Regions from separate parts of the Homo sapiens genome. Here regions 2 and 3 are each linked to region 1. Evidence: promoter capture Hi-C in human tissues and cell types (Jung and others, 2019). All regions are on one chromosome and are shown on one strand. Each heading gives the region's core, a stretch centred on a gene start or on the middle of the fragment in contact. The rest is flanking DNA. Distances are from core to core; before and after follow the strand shown.

Region 1 (3,022 bases), core at 165-2,664:
GGTGAGCCGAGATTGGGCCATTGCATCCCAGCCTGGGCAACAAGAGTTACACTCTGTCTCAAAAAAAAAAAAAAAAAAAAAAATCCCCTCCTTTGTTGGGCTTGGTTCCTAGGGTCACTCGAAGGGGGCTGCTCTATTATCATAGTAACCAGGCCTTGAACTTGCCTGTTTCTCACCTTCCGGAGGAAGGTCCAGGCCCTGTAACCATAGCAACTGCCCCTCAGCAGAGCATCTCCTCTAAATAAAAACACCTGGTTAGTTTGGTGCATGGGCCTCCCACGATGGGAAGGGGAAGACGGTTACCATGGTAATGCCAACTAGGTGGCTATGGGGGAGGGGCTGGGGAAGAGGTGCTTCTCTTAGAGATCAGTGTCCTTGGGGCTGGGGTCCTTTCTACCTGAATGCTAGGTGGGGGGGAGGTTGCCATAGTAATCAATGAGGATAGGAGCAGAAGGACCACCACGGACACTTAGGTTACCTTAGCAACCTTCTCCTGGTGCAGAGTCCTAAGAGGTTTGGGGCTCCATAACCACAAAGGTGGAAGCGAGGGGAAGGCTGCTCCCCACCACCTCGCCCCCACCGCTGGGGAAGGGTTACCATGACAACCAACCTGGCCGGCAATCAGAGAGGATGGGGCCACTGCTGGTCGCCCTTTCTCTCAGAGTAAAAGTAATTGTCCAGGAGAGTGGTGTTTGGGTGTGGAAGGGGTAAGGCTCTTTCTCTGGGGCGAAGTGGGAGGAGGGGGGCAGAAAGCGGCCCCTTCCTCAGTCTCACTCCAGCGAGGGGGACCGTCGCGCGGGGCCTGGGTCTCCCTCGCCCTCCTCGGGGCGCGATCTCCCACCCGCCGGCCCCCGCGCGGGCACGCTACCCTTCGGTGTAGACCCGGGTGGGCGAGGCTCGCGCTCGCCGCCGGCCCCCCTTCCTACTGTCCCCCGCCGGGCGCGCGCGCGGTGGTTGCGGCGGGGGAGGGGGGGGGGTGTTGGCGCGGCCGCGCAGGCGCGCGAGGCACAGCGGGCGCGCAGGCCGGCCCCGGGGCCTCCATGATGGAGGAGCGAGCGGCCGCCGCGGTCGCCGCCGCCGCCTCCTCCTGCCGTCCGCTCGGCTCAGGCGCGGGCCCTGGCCCCACTGGGGCGGCCCCGGTCTCCGCCCCTGCCCCCGGGCCGGGCCCGGCAGGTAAGGGAGGCGGCGGCGGAGGCAGCCCCGGGCCCACGGCGGGCCCGGAGCCCCTGAGCCTGCCGGGGATCCTGCACTTTATCCAGCACGAGTGGGCGCGCTTCGAAGCCGAGAAAGCCCGCTGGGAGGCCGAGCGCGCCGAGTTACAGGTGAGCGCTGTCCCGGGACCCCCGACCCCCAACCCGGCCCGGCCCGGCCCGGCCTCACCCGCTGCCGCCGCCGCCGCCATCTTGGAGCAATGGCCGCCGGGACGGCCGGCGGGGGGGCGGGAGGGGACCGCGACGGTCCCGGAGGGCGAGTGAGGGGCCGTCCGAGGGGTGTCCTGAGGGCACTCCGGGGTGGGACGGGACCGGGACGGCCCGAGGTGGGAGTGGAGGGACCGGGGGTGGGAGGGATCACCGGGACCGGCCGAGAGAAAGGGGCGGAGGGACCACAACCAGCTGGGAGTGGGACTGGGACTGGGACTGAGCACGCTGGCCGCGGGGCTCCTGAGAGAGGCGACTCGAGCCCTGGAGGGGAGGCTAAGAGAACTCGGGAAAGGGTGTGGAGAGGAGCTGGAGGGGTCTGGGAGACCTGAGTGGTCTCCTGTGGGAGTAAGCAGAAGCTTGCCGGGCGCCGAGGGACTCCCGACCCCGACCCCGACCATGGCCCTAGCCAGGTGCAGGTTGGAGGTGGGAGCGTCCAAGGGGGGAACTTGGGACCCGCTGGGAAAGAGCGGGTCCAGATGGGGAACCGGGAGGATTTAGGGAGAGGAAGTCGGGAACCTGGGATCGGTGTGTTTCGGGGCGACTGGACGGTGGGCACGGAAGGAGGGCTGTGTAAGGACCCGAGGGGTGGGAGGAGGGTTTCAAGGGGTCCAGGATGAAGGTGTGTGCCTTCCCCTCTGAGGAGAAACTTTGGGGATCCCGGGCATGTGTGGCTGCACAGTGCAGGGAAGGGTTCTTTGGAGTGGAAGTGTGGACAGAGCAGGGAATGTACCCTAGGAGCCTGGATGGGAGAGCTTAAGAGTGGAAGTTCCACTTTGGGGGTGTGCAGGAGTGGGCGCGATGGCACTGAGATGGCACGTGTGTTGTAGGATGTAGGTAGAGAGCCCTGAACTGGAGTGTGGGGTGTTGGGCATGTCCAGTATGGAGGTGAGGGTCCTGGGATGGTGCCAATGAGGACGAGTTAGGGGTTACCCTGGGGTGATGCTTTAGGGGGGAGAATTTTGTAGAGCCCGAAGGCAACATGAGGAGGCATCTCGGAACGGGGGTAGACTGGGGTTGGGGGGAAGGGGATATGTTTGTGGAAGTCTTGGGAAAAGACCCCGTGGTTTTTGGGGTAGCTTGGGACAGGGATGTTGAATGGAAGAGTCTGAGGAGTTGGGCTAGGGTTTGTGACCTCGTGGAGCGTCAGGTCCATTGGCAGTGACTGGAGGACCATGGAGATGTCCGGATTTGAAGGGATCAGGAATGGCCCGCTGGAAGTCTGAAGATTCTTGGACTGGGTTATTATTAGCAGAAATTGTCATTACCTGCTTGTAGCAGCCCACCTTTCCCCTTCCGATTTGCCGTTTGCTATCTAGTAGGAAGCTGGTACCCAAATAAATAGCTGATGAGAATTGTGTCGGTAGGGATGGGGTGCGGTGGCTCACGCCTGTAATCCCAACACTTGGGGAGGTTGAGGTGGGAGAATCCCTTGAGCCCAGGAGTTCGAGGCCAGCCTGGCCAACATAGCAAGACCTCATCTCTACAAAAAAGTACAAAAATTAGCCGGGTGTGGTGACATGCGCCTGTAGTCCCAGCTACTCAGGAGGCTGAGGTGGGAGGATTGCTTAAACCCCGGAGGTTGAGGCTGCGGTGAGCCATGA
Region 2 (3,022 bases), core at 287-2,786, 360 kb before region 1:
CTCTCCGAATAACATGGTATGAAGCCAGTTTCATAATTAAAACCTAATAGGATGGAAAAGCTGCCAGTTTGTCTGGGTGGCATGTCAAGTTCATGGGGATAAGTTAAAGTAAAAATGAGATTGATTGGGGGGAGCCAAACTTCATGGGTTTGACTCCCAGTTTCTTGGCCTTGTCTTTGCTGCAGAACGCTTTTGCTTTTAGGAGTTAATGCAGATGCAGTTTTGAAGACATTGTGTACAGTTTCACTGGTGATGTAATGAGGTGCGATAGGCAGTTTATTTTAAATAGATTTCTGGCACATCACCCATTGGGGTGACTCTTAGTAGTTGTTGACAAAAATGAAGATACGGCCTCTTGGTTGGTGCTAGATTTAGTTGTGTCCTGTTACTTTTTTTTTTTTTTTTTCTTAACAGAACGCAGGATTATTTGCTGAGAGCATAGTTTGCTGCTTCTGGCCAAACTGGTCTGCATAAAGGATCTTTCTCGTGTATTTTTTTTGCCATTTCGCATCTGTGTGAATAGGTGACTCAGTGCCCTGTTTGTCAGGCAAGTGGTGACATCTTTTTGAATGTCGGAGGTGGCAACAGGATGTGGAGGAAGACTGTGGACTTTGGAGCCAGATAAAACTGTTCAGGCCTGGCTTCTCCCCGGCAGTGTGCAGTAGGCATCGAGTATAAAATGCCCACTTCTCAGGGTCCTTGTGGTCAAATGAGTGCATTTGGGGACACCCACACAATGCCAGCATTCAGTGAATCTTCCTGCTTTCCCTACTAGAGAAGAATTTGAAACAGAACTTTTACAGTTGGTGTATAAACAGAAGTAAGAATAACATCTATTTTTGAAGGAAGTGCATTTATCTTTCATCTCTTAGGGTTCTGGTCAGCTTATTTAATTGCAGGGAGCCAATTGGGGTTGACACTAAGTGGAAGCCATCTTAAGATATTTCTTGCTTGCTCAGTGTCTTTTTATGGATGCTCAAATGGTCATACTGTCTGGAGCTTAATGCTGACTGTACCTCCTGTGTTCATCTTTTGCAATTAGAGTCCGAGTCAGTGCTGTAGTCTCAGTAGGGCTTCTGAGAACTGGGAAGCCAGGGATCTAGAATCTCATACCACTGCAAACTAGTCAGTTTCCCCACGCAAGTCCTTTACTCTCTCCAGAGGGGAATGAACAAGGTCTCATCCAGCTCCAGGATTCTTCACTCCTTTGGGATCTGGCTGAGTCAGATAAGGTTTTGTTCATTCAGTAACTGAGTTCCTCCCCGGCTTTTCTTGGAGCCCAAGAGTTTTCTGAGTGTGCAGAGAACCCTTCTATCATGAAGACTTTATTTAGAGTCGGGCTAGGGTTGTTACTGCCTTTACCAGGCTTCGTATTCCCTTCCTCTGTGTCTGGCCTACCTTCTACAGTTTCTGGCCACGATAAAGGGTTGCTGCTGCTGCTTGCAGCTTACTAATATGCACTTGGAAAGCAGATGCCTTAATTAATTTGAAGGTTAGGCTCAGTGGCTAGATCACAGGCAGGCCCATCAGGTTCCTGGTCATGCCTGTCAGTTGTCCCAGAAAGGATAGAGTGAACTCCAGAGCCAAAAGCTTTGTTTTTTCTCTTTTATTGAGACAGGGTTTTGCTCTGTTGCCCAGGCTGGAATGCAGTGGCACCTCATAGTATTAATAGCTCACTGCAGCCTCGAACTCTTGGCTTCAATGATCCTCCACCTCAGCCTCCCAAAGTGCTGGGATTACAGGTATAAGCCACCATGTCTGCCTGGGTGCTGCCATGTTCTCTCCACACGGGATTGGCCCTCTGCTGAGAGTGATGGGTGGTGGACAGCTATGGTTGGGGGAGTTAGGCAAACTGGATGTGATTCTTGAGTTCATCTCCTAAGTCAGTGTCTTTGTCTTTCCGAAGGGGCAACAGTGCCATTTGTGCACAATTGACCTGAAGGTCAAAGATTATCTGCCAGAGCCCTTCTGAGTGCTTCTCATGCATTAGCTCATTTAACCTTTACCTCTGCTGTTTGAGGAGAAACCAAAACAGAGAGGTGAAGTCACTTGTCCCAGGTCACAAAACAAGTGTGTGCTGCAGGCAGAGTTAGAACCCGGGGTGGCTGGTACTCAGACCCCATCTCTATACATACCATTATACTGTGGTGGATCTGGTGTGCTATTTTTCAGACTGTGGGGTATAGCCACTAGTGGGATATGAAGTCCAATTATTGATCTTTTTCTTTTGCATTGGAAAACCAAGGAAATGGAAGAGGAGAGAAAAAGCAGAATGCATTTAAATGTGGCTTCTGGAAACTTTTGTTTGGGAGAAATGCAAAGAAGCAGATGTGGGTCAGTGTCAAAAAGTGTGAAAGCCGTTGCATCCAGGCTAGGGGTCGGCAAACTATGATTCTCGGGCCAAAGCCAGCCCACCCAGCCTGTTTTTGTAGGTAAAGTGTTTTTTTGTTGGTTTGTGTTGTTTTGAGACAGAATCTTGCTCTGTCACCCAGGCTGGAGTGCGGTGGCATGATCTTGGCTCACTGCAACCTCTGCCTCCTGGTTCAAGGGATTCTCCTGCTTCAGCCTCCTGAGTAGCTGGGATTACAGGCGCACACCACATGCTCAGCTAATTTCTGTGTTTTTAGTAGAGATGGGGTTTCACCGTGTTGGCCAGGCTGGTCTTGAACTCGTGACCTCGAGTGATCCACCCTCCTTGGCCTCCCAAAGTGATAGGATTACAGGTATGAGCCACCGCGCCTGGCCAGTAGGTAAAGTTTATTGGCACACAGCCATACTCATTCATTTATATCATCAGTGGCTGCTTCTACGTTACAGCAGCAGAGTTGAGTAGAAAGTTGCTGCCCACCACGTGATATGGTATGCACTGTCTGGTATGCCTGCACAGCAGCCATTGTCATTTTTTTTGTGGTGGGAAGGAATGAGGAGGGAATATAGATATTCCATTTAAAGTTGGCCCTCGAGAGGGTGGGGGTGTTAACTGTTTCCTCAGTCCACTGTGGCTCCATTCTCCCTGCGTTCC
Region 3 (3,022 bases), core at 154-2,653, 270 kb before region 1:
GGGACAGAACATCGGGTGTGAATTGGACCCGGGGGGGGGCCCGCGGCCAGGGGGGCGGGGCTTTGCTCACCACGGTCCGGACGGCGCCTTGACCATCAGCCCGGGTAGAAAGTCCCAGGGGACGCTGGCGCCGCGGCCTCCCACGCATTTGACCTCGCTTCCGCCGCCACTGCCGGGATAGGGGGCCGCCATCTCCGGGGGGCTCGCTCAGGCGGGCTCCGAGCCCCGAGTCTCCTGCAGCGGGAGGGGGCCAGGGGCAACGCTTAGTGCCCTCGGGAGACCTTCTAGGGAAACTGAGATCCGTGCAGGGCTCAGGGTCCCAGCAAGGAGCTGGGGGGGGGGGGGCCTGGATGATGCCTCAGTTTCCCCTACCTGGAGGCCTCAGCTCCCACCCTAGCCGGCCCGGGGCTGGCGCTCCGGGTGAGGACGTGCCCCGCCGCCGCCTCCCCCGCGCCGCCCGCCAGCGCGCCCGCCTCACGCCCGCGCCGGGCCGGCTCCCGCATACCAATGGGCGCACGCGGCGCGCATACGGATCGAACCGGCCCGCGCGCTGCGTGCCAAGCATGCCCAAGCCGGGCGGGGGGCGGGCGCCTCCCGGGCCAGGCACGCACGCCCCAGCCCCCGGAGCCCTCTGCCCCGAGGACCCGCCCCCCAAGCCCATCCCCGGTGTCTGACTCCCCGGATCTGCACCCTGTTTTCCCGGCTGGGCTAAGGAGGCAGGGGGCAGAGGGCAGGGACCCCCATCCTGTGTCCTGCCCAGGGATCCCCCCAGCCTCTCGGGATGGCGCCACGTGTTCGGACCGCCACATCCCCACGACCACAACTTCCTCCCTGAAGACCCCGGCGCGCGAGCCCCAGCCCCGGACGCAGCCGCCGCAGCCTCTGCCCCAGGACGCCCCCAGGATTGACCCGACACTCGGGGCCCAGGTGTCCTGGTCTCCTGATCCCCTAACGTTTTCAGTTAGGTCTTCATTCCTCCAGGACCAGGCGTTCAGAACACCCCCTAACCCCAGGAACCAGGCCGCCCCCAAACCTCCCAGCCAGGTGTCCAGATGCCCCAGACCCCCGTGTCCAGGTCTCCCAACCCCAGATTTCTCCAGGACTCAAACATCCGTGCGCCCCTTCCCCCAGGCTCGGGATACCCTCGTCCCACCCCCTATCCCCCAGGACACTGGAGTTCCAGCCCCCCATTCCTCTGGGACCCAGAAGTCCCCCTCCTGCCAGCCCGCAAGCTTCCCCTACCCGCAGGACCGCCAGTCCGATTACTTGGCCGCAGAGCAGGCTCCGGGCGCGGCGTGGGGCCGGCCGGGCGGCGCGGAGGGGCAGCTCCATAGACCCCGGGGCGCGCGGGGCGCAGCGGGACGCGCGGGCTGTGGCGCCCAGCTCTCGGCGCCCACCTCGGCCTCGCAGACTTGGAGACGCGCGACCAGCGCTGCGGGCGGGGGCGGGGTCTGCCGGAGCCCCGCCCGCCGCGTCTCCGCCCCCGGACCCGCCCTGCTCGCCTTTCCCTGGTAGGGGGCCAAGCTACCCTGGGGTCCGAGTTCCCTTGCCCCACGGTAACGTCGGGGGTCAGAATGTAGCACCTCGGATCGGAGCTACCCCACTCCAAAAGGGGAACAGCGGAGTCCGGGCACTGTCTACACCCCTTCAGGAGGCAGTTAGTGCCCCAGCAGCCCCTCGGGACAAGACAGGTACCCTGCAGCCGAGCCCCATGTACGAGTGAAGACTCACGTCAGTGCTTCCTCCAGGGACACAAATCCAGAATTCGAGACCCTCCCTTTCCGGGAGAGAACTCCTGAGTGTCAGCACACTCTCCCCCCACAGGGCTGGGACTTCGCATCCAAACCCAACCCGCCTTAAAAGGGGGACATACACCTCCCTCGTCAGGGACCAGGATCCAGCTCTCTAAGGAGCTCCAGAGACCAGGATCCTGGCGTCTTATCTCCATCCCCCGCCGCAGGGACGGGAACCCTTACATCCAAGCTCCCCATTAGATCATAAATGGGAACTCAGGGGTTGTAGTACCTCGCACAGAGGACGGGAACCCAGGCGTCCAAGCCAGGCCTTCCCCAGTCTGATAGGAGGTCCTACAGTTCCCCTAGCTCCTTCTCTCCATGCAGCCCCCACTTCCCGTTCTCAGGGTCCTCCCTGGCATGGGGGTCTCCAGGCACTTAAAAGCCTCTACATGACCTTAACATGGGGAAAGAAAATGGAGCTGGGGCCGGGCGCGGTGGCTTACACCTATAATCCCAGCACCTTGGGAGGCCAGGGCGGTTGGATCACCCGAGGTCAGGAGTTCAAGGCCAGCCTGGCCAACATAGTGAAACCCTGTCTCTACTAAAAATACAAAAATTAGCCGGGTGTGGTGGTGGGCGCCTGTAATCCCAGCTACTCGGGAGGCTGAGGCAGGAAAATCCCTTGAACCTGGGAGGCGGAGGTTGCAGTGAGCCGAGATCCCGCCACTGCGCTCCAGCCCGGGTCAGAGAAGGAGAGTCCATTTCGAAAGAAAAGAAAAGAAAAAGAAAATGGAGCAGGGAGTCTTAGAAGAGGCATACAGTCAGGGGCTTGCAGGGAGCACGCGCTGGCCTTTGGTTGGGCAGATGGGGAAACTGAGGCACACACAAACACCCGTGTGCATTTGCTCACAACACACAAACTCATTCATGATCCTCATAGTTAACACTTAAGGGAGTGCTTGTTTTTTGCTAATACTTTATTTTATAGCAAGATTCTGAGATGGGCTCTGTTACTAGATGCATTTTACAACTAGGGAAACCGAGACATGGGGAAGTGATATAGCCTGGTGATAGTGGCCTCTCAGACAACAGATCCTTATTTATCCCCAGAGAGACTTGCTAGAGTTTCAGGGCAAGGAATCAAGCTCAGATCATGGGCTCCTGTCTCCTGACAGCACTTCCTGGCTGTGCAGCCTGGGCAGGTGCTATGCCAGCCATGAGAGGTACACTTGTGCCATTAATTAATTAATTAATTATTTTTGAGACACAGTCTTCTCGCTCTGTCA

Evidence for each region. The method cuts DNA at HindIII sites, captures the fragments that hold promoters and counts their contacts. A contact is called where the count stands out against the background at its distance.
Region 2: a contact is called between a fragment that was not itself captured here and the fragment with the promoter of FKRP in region 1, in 1 of the 25 tissues and cell types used here (bladder).
Region 3: the fragment with the promoter of NPAS1 here is called in contact with the fragment with the promoter of FKRP in region 1 in 3 of the 25 tissues and cell types used here (H1 embryonic stem cells, liver and stomach).

What each region holds. Positions count from the first base shown.
Region 1 is chr19:46,744,449-46,747,470 of GRCh38, reverse strand. It overlaps FKRP (fukutin related protein), which reads right to left and starts at 1,414. Exons shown (of 4, transcript NM_024301.5): 1 at 1,381-1,414. STRN4 (striatin 4) reads left to right here and starts at 1,021. Exons shown (of 18, transcript NM_013403.3): 1 at 1,021-1,322. The coding sequence starts at 1,041. RefSeq lists silencers at 596-645, 686-785, 826-975, 986-1,035, 1,246-1,475. The HindIII fragment of the contact is 7,098 bases long and covers 1-3,022 here.
Region 2 is chr19:47,105,042-47,108,063 of GRCh38, reverse strand. All of the region lies in intron 2 of ZC3H4 (zinc finger CCCH-type containing 4), which reads left to right. Among named protein-coding and RNA genes, the nearest start is that of ZC3H4, 7.2 kb to the left of the region's middle. The HindIII fragment of the contact is 3,689 bases long and covers 1-3,022 here.
Region 3 is chr19:47,018,218-47,021,239 of GRCh38, reverse strand. NPAS1 (neuronal PAS domain protein 1) reads right to left here and starts at 1,403. Exons shown (of 12, transcript NM_002517.4): 1 at 1,243-1,403; 2 at 71-234. The coding sequence starts at 192. RefSeq lists a silencer at 1,407-1,466. The HindIII fragment of the contact is 24,576 bases long and covers 387-3,022 here.